2 separate regions of the Homo sapiens genome follow, and region 2 is linked to region 1. Evidence: promoter capture Hi-C in 16 types of primary human blood cells and fetal thymus (Javierre and others, 2016). All regions are on one chromosome and are shown on one strand. The core of a region is centred on a gene start or on the middle of the fragment in contact, and the rest is flanking DNA. Distances in the headings are between cores, read along the strand shown. Region 1 holds the start of FNDC1 (fibronectin type III domain containing 1). Region 2 overlaps SLC22A3 (solute carrier family 22 member 3).

Evidence for each region. The method cuts DNA at HindIII sites, captures the fragments that hold promoters and counts their contacts. A CHiCAGO score of 5 or more calls a contact.
Region 2: a contact is called between a fragment that was not itself captured here and the fragment with the promoter of FNDC1 in region 1, in 1 of 17 cell types (total B cells). The highest score is 7.6, in total B cells.

What each region holds. Positions count from the first base shown.
Region 1 is chr6:159,165,984-159,170,756 of GRCh38, forward strand. It overlaps FNDC1 (fibronectin type III domain containing 1), which reads left to right and starts at 3,417. Exons shown (of 23, transcript NM_032532.3): 1 at 3,417-3,722. The coding sequence starts at 3,614. FNDC1-AS1 (FNDC1 antisense RNA 1) reads right to left here and starts at 4,024. Exons shown (of 4, transcript NR_121668.1): 1 at 3,829-4,024; 2 at 2,550-2,778; 3 at 1,266-1,371; 4 at 1-205. RefSeq lists a silencer at 3,296-3,465 and an enhancer at 4,272-4,771. The HindIII fragment of the contact is 8,244 bases long and covers 1-4,475 here.
Region 2 is chr6:160,451,795-160,457,289 of GRCh38, forward strand. It overlaps SLC22A3 (solute carrier family 22 member 3), which reads left to right. Exons shown (of 11, transcript NM_021977.4): 11 at 1-783. Among named protein-coding and RNA genes, the nearest start is that of SLC22A3, 110 kb to the left of the region's middle. The HindIII fragment of the contact is 6,115 bases long and covers 220-5,495 here.

The DNA of each region.
Region 1 (4,773 bases), core at 2,167-4,666:
ACAAAATAGAAGCAACAATCAAGACATCAGGAAATTACATGAAAAAACATTTAAATCTTAAAATCTTTCACAGGACAACAGTATTGATATTGGACTCAAAACTGACAAGAAGGAAGAAAACTTCCGTGTGCTCATATTTTTGAGATGACCACGTTGAGAACAGATGACTGACTCCGAGTTCCATTTTCTTTAAGATATTTTGAGCCTAAAGGTAATAATACCTTTTGATTAAAACACACACTCTCATATTTGTAATGAAATCAGAATCAGAACTCATAAGTGTCAGTAATTTCATTTAATATCAAACAGCCCATGGTTGAGGGTTCTGAAACTCTAAAATTGGAAGTAATTTTGCATTGTGCTTCACTCTGAAATGTACCCCTAAGAAAGTTGCTCTAATAAGTATTCTGGGGAGGAAGGTAAGTGCACATGCATCTCCTGAGGATGCAGGGAAGGAAACTGATGTCTGTTGAGCTTTCACTGTGTGCATATAGAGATTATGGCATATGATTAGTTCATTACAATGAAACTAAAGAGTGACATCCTGAAATTACAGAAGTCACAATGGAGAGTTAACCAGCAGCATGAGAATAGTGTGACTCGGTATATTGCAAATCCTCTTTTTCTCCACATCCAATGAGTCAGAAAATCTCCCAAACCATACCTTTAAGATGCATCCAGAACCTCACTGGTTCTCGTGCCCCACTGCTGTCCATCATGTCCAAGCACCGTCTTGCCTCACTGGGATTGTAAGAGCCTGCTTACCCGTGTCTCCTCTGATCAGAATTCTCCAGTGTTGCCCTTCACCTCTCAGATTGAAAGCCTAAACCCTTCCTGCAGCCTGTAAAGTCCTCAGTGCTGCCTCCCCTTCTCTGCTTTTAACTTAACTCCTGCTATTCATCTGCTTTCAGTCACTGCTAATCCCCGGGGTCTACAGCAGTGCTGGGGACAGAGTAGATCACAATAAGTATTTGCTGAATGAATGAATGAATGGCAATTAACCTCAGCATTTCCTGGATATTACTGTGTTTGGTTCTGTGATGGCCTCTTTTGGGTGACAGATGAGCAATAAAGATAAGTCTTGGTTCTTGTCCTCTTAAGAACAGGGGGGAGTGCACTAGTCAAGACTCATTGGTTATAGAAAATAGAAATCTCATTCCAAGTTAGCAAAAGGGAATGTGCTGTCCCCAGAACCAGCGTTCAGAAAGCGCAGGGGTGAGGTGGAGCCCGGGACTCTTGCATCTGCCCGGCTCTTTTCTACCCACCTGGCCGCTCTCCATGCGTGGCTTCCTTCTCTCCAGCTGGTGTCCCTGGAGGCTGCAGCCAGAGCCACAGGCCCATCCTGGCTACTGCACTGGTGTTCGGTGGCCGCTGTAAGAAGTAATTACAAACGGGGTGGGTGGCTTAAACAACAGAAATCTGCTCTCTCAGTCTTGGAGGCCAGAAGTCTGAAATCAGTTCCACTGGCCTGAAGTCCAGCACAGGCTCTGGAGGAGCCTCTTCCAGCCTCTGGTGAGGGCTGCCAGCATCCCTGGGCTGTGGGTGCATCGTTCCCATGGCTGCCTCCGTCCTCACCTGGATTTCTCTTGTGTGCGTCAATCTCCCTCTCCTCTGTTTTATAAGTTACATACATGACTGCATTAGGGCCCACCCAGATAATCCACGATAATCTCTCTGTCTCAGCATGCTTAATTGCTTTTTAATAAACCATGTAAGGTGACATTCACAGGGTCAGGGACTAGGACAGGAATGTCTTTTTGGGGAGGAAGGCTGTGTTTCAGCCTGCCATGGCTACCATCCTTCCAAATCCACGAATGATGGGAGAAAGAGACCTTTCCACCAGCCCGTGTTAGAAGAGTCCCAACTCTGAGTGACCCTGTCTAGGCCACTGCAGAGCCCTGAGCCAGTGGGGAAGTGGGGCTTTGGGAAGGAGTGGGAGTAAGGAGGGGGCCTGTCACTTGGTTGGAGTTGGGGAGGGAGCTACCATTCCCCCAAAATAGGCAGAGCCGGGTGGCTGCTGGTGAGACAGAAACCACACAGCTCCATTAAATGGCATGTGGGGAAACATGATAACATAAGGGAGTAATGCAGGAAAGTGTGTTTGGGCTGGGCGTGGTGGCTCACGCCTGTAATCCCAGCACTTTGGGAGGCCAAGGTGGGCGGATTGCTTGAGCTCAGGAGTTGGAGACCAGCCTGGGCAACGTGGGGAAACCCTGTCTCTACAAAACATACAAAAATGAGCTGGGCATGGTGGCTGAAACCTGTAGTCCCAGCCACTTAGGAGGCTGAGGCAGGAGAATGGCTTGAGCCTGGGATATGGTGGTTGCAGTGAGCCAAGACTGCACCACTGCACTCCAGCCTGGGCGGCAGAGGCAGAGGGAGACCCTGTCTCAAAACAAAAAGAAAAAGAAAAACAAACAAACAAAAACCTTTGCTGGGAAGCAGGAGAGTTTCCTGGAAAGGAAGGCGGTAGGTTTACACCTTTCCTGGGTGCTCAAATTCAAAGAGATACTGTATTTCTGGTTTTCATCTCTTTGCAATTCATTTACCTTTTTTTTTTCCTCTCTGCAGAACACAAATCCGGTCAAGTTTTGGGTTGTCATGAGGGAGAACTGACATAGCGCTGGGCGGTGAGTTCAGCCAGGTTATCTCTGCGAGGACACCGGTCGGCGGCGGACAGCAGCACGCGGCGTCCAGGACCCGGCCTTCCTAGAGCTTAGGTCACTGTAGCCTCCAGGGGCGCTCCGAGTCCATCTGGAGGGCCGCGAGGCTTCCAGGCTGGAAGGAGGAATAGGGAGAAGGAGGAATAGGGAGACCTGGGGCAGTGTTACAATTACAGAAAAGGGAGAGGCGAGGTCCGCTGAGTCCTTGGCCTGGGCAACAAGGCACACTGAAAACTGGGTTCCTTTTCGACCCGCATCGTGCGCGCCCTAGAAATGACAGCCAGACGGAGCAGGGTCTAAGGACGCTGAAAACCCCTGACGTGGGCGCGCCGGGTGCGGGTAGGGACGTGGAAGGACTGGGCTAGCCACAGGAACTACAGCGCTGCGGACCGGGTGAGGGGTCCCGGCCCGAGTCCCCACTTGGGGCGCAGAGGTGTTTCTGTAAGGGGACAAAGGGCACTCCTCGGCGCGATGGGCGACTTCCCCAGCCAGAAAATGAGAGGGTTAGACGAGGGGAGGAACTTCCTCAGCCACTTGGCCCGGCACAGCGACCGCCCCAAGTTCAGAACCGCTAAGTCAGTCCGGGGCGCTCCGGCCCCTTCGTCCCGCGCCCCGCCCGCCTCCAGCCCGGGCCCCGCCGCCCCCGTCGCCCCTGTCGCCCGGGTCGCCCCCGCCGGCCCTGGCCCCGGCCCCGCACACCGGCAGGGGGCGCCCGAGCGCAGCTAAAAGGCTCGGCGGGAGGTCGGCGGCCTCAGTGGCGGAGCGCGGCTGCCGGTGTGCGGCCGGGAGCGATCGCCGCGGGGCAGGGGCGCGGCGGGCACCGCGCAGAGCGCGCAGAACAGACGGACGGCGGCGGGGACCCGACGGCGGCGCCTCGGCACTCCCCAGACTCCGGCCAGCGCCCCCCTGCCAGCCGCAAGCACCCAGCCCCGGCCCACCCCGGGCTCTCGATGGCCCCCGAGGCCGGGGCGACCCTGCGCGCGCCGCGCCGGCTGTCCTGGGCGGCGCTGCTGCTCTTGGCCGCGCTGCTCCCCGTCGCCTCCTCGGCGGCGGCCTCAGGTACGCGCCGCGCCCGGGCCCCCGGCGCTCCTCAGCTCCCCGCGCACCCTCCTGCGCTCGGGCCCCGTCGTCCCGCTCAGTGCTGGCTACGGGTCGTGTCACTAGCCTGTGCGTCCTCGTCACTCGCGGGTCGGGGCACTTGGCGCCCTGTGTGGGTGGCGGGAGCGGGGACGCCTCGGTGCCCGGGGACCGCAGCGCGCTGGCGTTTAACTTTGCCGTCGCCCGCCTTGGAGTCGGGAGGCTCCAGCCGTCTAAGTGTCCCGGGAGATTCAGGCACAGCGGGGAAAAAAGGAAAAGAAAGGCGACTTTCAGCGTGCGGACTGGGGTAATGCCTTTCTTTGCCCAGAATTTCTCGGGAGCGTAGGTGGTCATCCTACTTTCTCCGCGTTCACCTCTCGCGAGGCAGGATGACGGGCGCACTCGGGAGACCGGAGGGAGGCAGAGCAGGGCTGTTCTAGAAGGTCGTGGGGGAAAGGCTGCGAGCTGCCGCAGGGCGTCGGGTGCCTCTGCGCTCCAGAGGAGAAGCGCTCCAGTGCCAGCTCGGCTCCAGGCGGCAGGAGGCCCGCGCGCCCGGGGGGAACGTTCAAGCTGGGAGAAAATGTTTGTCTTGAGAGGAGGGAGAGGGAAATGAGAAAGCTGATTCCAGAGAAACTCGCCCTTCCCCAATGGCTGAGGCTGCAGCCAGGATGGATGCTTCCTTTGAGAGCAATGCTTTTCAGAAAATGCTAGCGCGCTCCTGTCAGATTTCTTGCAAGCTTCCTGCAGAGAGAGACAAGTTTGTGGCGAGGTTTTCATTCCTAAGCCTTTGGCGGCCCTTGTTACCACCTCCTTTGCAGGCATTTTTACACTTGAAACTGGCTTTTAGGTTATTGGTTTGTAGAAATCCAAGAAGCAGACAATGATCGTCAGATACTATTCCAACGAGGGTACCAGTTTTATGATGCTATTTAGTGTATATATTGTTCTCTTACTTCAGGGGTAAAGGAAGAAAAGTTGGGGATCACATTACTTTGTGACTTTTTGGTAGATACATCATCCCAATGCTTGGCTC
Region 2 (5,495 bases), core at 2,027-4,526, 1.3 Mb after region 1:
GGACATTTTTGGCTCTCCTTTAGTGGACACCTAGAGCCACAGATTCCCTTCTTTACTAAACAAATCCCATGGATTCTGATTTCTGGGTCTTAGGATTTTAAAAGTGAAGGGATATTTTTCTTATATTTGTGAGTTCAGTTCCGATGGTGCCCGTGGTCAAAAGCGAAAAACATGGACAATTCCTATTCATTCTTAGCACTTTGACATGTCTTGGGGAAAAGCTTACATTTTAATTTAAAAGAAAGATCAATTATATCCATGCTTAACAGGATCAGCAGGAGCTTTATAAATGACTTTACAGAGACTAATAAGGGATTTGATCTTTCTTTTTTTGTTATCGAGGCTTTTGAAATGTGGAACTTGTGTGTTCTGCTTTATATGTTATATTCAATATCTTTTCAGATGCAGTCTATATTTTATGCTGAGTTTTAAAAATGAAATACTTTATGCAAACAGGCAAAATTGGTACCAAAGGGAAACATTAACCATGAGGAAGAGCATTTTTCTAAGGAGAACAGGTGACAATATACACATGTGCGCTAATCGTAAAATGAGCATCTTAGTCTTTAAAACACATCAGAATTGAATACGAATAATCTATTTGTCGATGAAATAAACACAACTCTTTGAGGATTTGAGACTACATTCACCCTTTATTCACAGTCACTTGCAGTTTTGCTTTTCTCTGCATTTCTCTGCTGTAAGATGACTGTTGCATTGTTGAATTGTATTTTGAGTGGATATTTTTGTTTGGTAACAATTAAAATTTTAAATCGTAAAAAATGTACATTTGCCCTTTCTCTTCCTTCTAAACATGTGTCTCTCCCACAGGTCATTCTCCTGTGACACGTGTACTGCAGAGTGTTTCAAAACCGGGCAGGCAATTAGCAATGGGAAATAAGTGGTCCACCTTCAATATTTGCTTGTTGTTCATTTACATGCTCTTGGCACCAATCCTAGACTCACGTGTGCCCCAGAATAACATTCAGACTCTCAGCTGGTCTTGTGTTACACATCCATGGACCGGTTCACTCCATCATATACAGCTCTCTGCTCCGTGTCCCCTGGGCTCAAGTCAAGCAGTCGGTGACAGATTTCATTCCCAATAACAGAATCGGTTTGCATGACTCCCCATACATGTTGCAGCTTTGAAAACATTCATCTCAGAGTTAGGTATAAAGACATAAAAATGTGTGTCAAGCCCTCGTTAGCTGATGAGGTAAATGCATGGACAACTTCCTAGGACTTCTCGGCTCTGCCCTCTGTGACCTTGCAGCCTGCTCAGGTCTTTGTGCTCTGTTCCTTATCAAAAACAGCACAACCCCCTCAATCTGCCCATTTAAAAATTGGTGGAGTGAACAAAGAGCATGAAAATGTTGAAGACCACAACCAAAATTTACTCAAATCAAAGTTAAGTACAGAGTTTATTTTTAACAAATGTCATAGCTATGTCACCTTACTACAGAATCCAGCAGTCAGAAAATAACACAAAAAATGCCGAGGTTTGGCGTAGCTGGTAGCTGGGGACAGTGTCTTCGTTTGATTACTGCCAGTTATTTCCAGCATGCTAAATCCCTACCCACGTTCCAGCCTCTAGGTGAGTCAGTGCGTCACTCTGTCTCCCGTCCAATTAATTATTTCTCATCACTCCCTCAATCCAAGTAACAAACCTTGAAACACGAACATAGACACCAGGCTTATTGGGGCGTGCACAGCCAAGACCCCAAGAAGTGACTCCTTGTAAAATGTATTTGTCCTTCTCAAAGCAAACCAGAGGCCCTCCACTGTCACCCTAAATAGAGGTAGGGAAAAATTCATGTGAGGGTTAGGCTGCCAGCCTTTTATTGTGGCATCCATCTATTGTCCATATGTATATTTTCCCAGTAATTGAAATTGGAAAGGAACTTATGGGCATATTACTGGAGCATCTGCAGTGCTTAAGTACTTAGCAAAATCTATTCAGCGAAACCACACCACTTAGTTTCTCCCAGGGGTAAAAAAAACCCTTGTGAATCCTGCACACATCCCTTCCTGTGTTGGTGTTTCCTTTAGACTGGCCTAGCCTGGGCATCACTGTAAAGTATGTGCAGTTGGTCTCTGTCCTGTACCCTCTACCTCCTTCCCTGTCGGAAAAGTCACCACTTTAGTCCCTGGCCACCAGCACACCCCAGGAGGGTGAGTGGCCTGAGGTAGTTACGGCACTTAAAACTCCCTTGCTACCGATCTGGAACTCAAGCCCCAAGACATCCCCTTAGATGATCTGAATACGCATTCAGGGACAGATCTAGGCAGTTTCTAAACAACACTTAGACTGGGGTCTAACGTTGACAAATCCTTCTAGAATTTGCCTCTTTGGGACTGAAGTCTAAGGGGCTGAGACCAAGAAGGGAGAGCACAAGACTAACTTTGGTCTCTTGACCTTTTCTTACCTTGCAACTGTCAGTGCCTCCAGCCAAATGCCTAGCACAGAGCTCAGTGGATTTGATTCTTCCATTCAGATACTCATAGCGATTGCACACTTTATTCTCAATCACAAGAAGCTGGGGCTTCCTTGAGAAGGCCAGCCCCAAAGGTACCTGTGTTTAAAAGATGAAAGAAATGGTTGCTGAACCCAAAACATGTTTAGGAGGAAAACCAGAAGAACAGAGCAGTGGCACTGGACCTCCTGTCTGTCCGTGAGGCTGCAGAACACAAGGCAGCTCCCAATGCCGCTGGACTCTCTGACCTTGGAGAGTGTAAACATCATATATGATTCTGTGTTCCTGAGATCTGGGTTTAACGATCTGGGCTTTGTCATGGTGTTTTACGTTCGTTGTTGTTTGTGTACTTTTTGCTTTTCTTTTGAAAGTATGAAAATGATTTTTACAATGTAAAGAGAGTCTGAGAAATGCAATTGCTATTCTTTTTATATACTTTTTCAGATTTTTTATATGCTTCTTTACTACTTACATCATAATGCACAATTTTATATACTGATTTTTTCAATCAATGTATATCATGAGTTTTTAAAATAATGCTACAATCTTCATAACTAATATTTTAATGGGGAGTGACTGCTTAATTGGCATGAGGTTTCCTTTTGAGATGAGGAAAATGTTCTGAAAATATGGTGATGGTTGCACACCATTGTGAATGTACTGAATGCCATTCAGTGGTACCCTGCAAAATAATTAAAATCCTAACTCTTATGTTGTGTATATTTTATTGCAATAAAAAGAATAGTCGTCATTTACTAAGAATTAACCTTTTCAGGCACAAGCTCTTAATGTGGTGTATCTCACTTCATCCTCACAACCGTCCTATGAAACAGGCACTTTTATCATTCCTGTTCTACAGCTGAGGAAACTGAGGTGTAAGGAGGTTGTGTAGTTCAGCTTGAGCCTGGGTCTGCGGAGTCACTGCCCAAATGCTTCCTCCCCGTGCACACTGGCCCCACTCTTGCTTCCAATCTTCCACATGTTTGTTCATAAAGTTCATTCTCGTTTCTTTTCTGAAGTCTAAGTTCCCATAATTATGTTGACATATTTCCATCTCGCGGTAACACTCCCAAATTATTTTCTAAAAGTGTGTGACAGTATAAAATGTTACTGGAAACAATTCTCCTCACCCTTGTGAGTATTCAATTTTTAAAAGATTAGCTAACATAGTAGGTGGAAATTGTCCTGATTCATTTTCTGATTTACACTTCCTTGACAATTAGGGAGAAGAAATACAACTAGGGACAATTCTCCTAGTTGTAGTTTTTCTTTTGTGAAAAACTGCTTTATTTCCTTTGCCAAATTGAAACAGAACATCTGCTAAACTGCCAGAGGGAATGCTGTTTTTCCAGATGGACACGCCAAGGATGTCTCAGTGCTCTCACAAATAATCGTTTTCCAATTTTGCAAGCCCAGCTTTGATTAGAATTTCTCAAAATATTTTGCTTTGCGAGCATGACACAGGCAAAAGCTGAGGCACTCTTTCTTTCTTCCCCCAAAGTGTTGGACTGCACTTAGATCATTGTCTCAGGTTCAGAAAACTGACACTGAATCTGGAGTTTACATGAGCAGCGTAGAAGAGGCTCTTCCCAGAGCCTGGCTCCAGAGCCCAGCTCAGCCCTAGCCGGGAAGGAGCTGCATGGAGGAAGCTCCTCCTGGCTACCAAGCATCGGGCAGGGGGTGCATGACGTGGACTGTGTAGATGGGTGAGGGAGCACCCTTTTCAAAATATTTTGCTGAAAATTAAGTTAGATATCACTGCTCTCAGATCTGCTCTCAGAGCAAGGCAAACATCCTGATCAGGAGGTAAACCCACCACTAGTTGCCAGGAAATTGACGCGGTCTGTGAGTATGTGCTGCCATCCAGTGGCCAATGTAGAGATGGCACCTCTGAGGGCGGGGGGCCACGGGTGACCTTGAGGATTGAAGCCCTCCCTGATTGGGTCCTGGGGAGAGGGCCACAAGATTAGCCCAGTGATTGTGGATGGGGCTGACACGGAAGAGCCCCTTGGCCTCAACACCTACTCTGCATTTGGAATATCCAAGTCAAGGAAGGTCTGGAAACATGAAGGGGAGAGGGGGAGAATTTCGACCTCCCTCTGAGAAGCTGAGAACACCCATTGATCTGATGTCATCAACATATAGAAAATCGATAAACAGATCTGAGTTATGTTTTGTGACTCCTCCTGGTCTAGTTAGTGTTCTGAGAATCATTTTCTCAGTGGACATGTGGGTGAGACCAGAGGAGACAGGGAGCCAGTGCAGGATGGTGGTTAGAAATGTGCAGAAGGGGGTGGGAGAGAGGACACAGCGAGTGGGCTCTGGGGTCAAGGCCCGGTTACACGCCGGTTATGTGATGTTTATTTATGATGATAGTGGTGATAGTGATGGTGATAGTAGTGATAATAGTGATGATGGTGGTGGTGATGATGGTTGTGGTAATGATAATGGTGATGGTGGTGGTGATGGTGATGATGGTGGTGGTAGTGATAATGGCAATGGTGGTGATGGTGATGGTGGTGATGGCGGTGGTAGTGGTAGTAATGATGATGATGGCGGTGGTGATGGTGATGATGGTGATGGTGGTGGAATGGTGGTGATGGTAATGGTAGTAATGATGATGACGGTGGTGGTGATGATGTTGATGGGGAGGATGATGATAAGTGGTGGACGGGGATGACGGCGATGATTAATAACCCTAATCCTCACAATGACCTTATATGTAAGTACAGATGAGAAAGCTGAGGCTAAAAGAGATTAAATAACTGCCCAACGTCACATGGAATATGGGAGAGACAGAACTCACACCCGGATCCTTATGATTTTAGCTTCATGCTTTCATCAGTTGAAGTATTGTAGAGGATCTGTTTGTTTTCTGGCTGCCCAGCAGCCTTTCACCCTACATCCCATAATTCTGGTGAGGGATCTACCTTTTGCTCCCTTCTGGGTATGAATGGGGTCCTGCCTCCACCTTCAGCATGGAACAGCTGATGCAGGTCAGAGCCAATCAGTGACGGG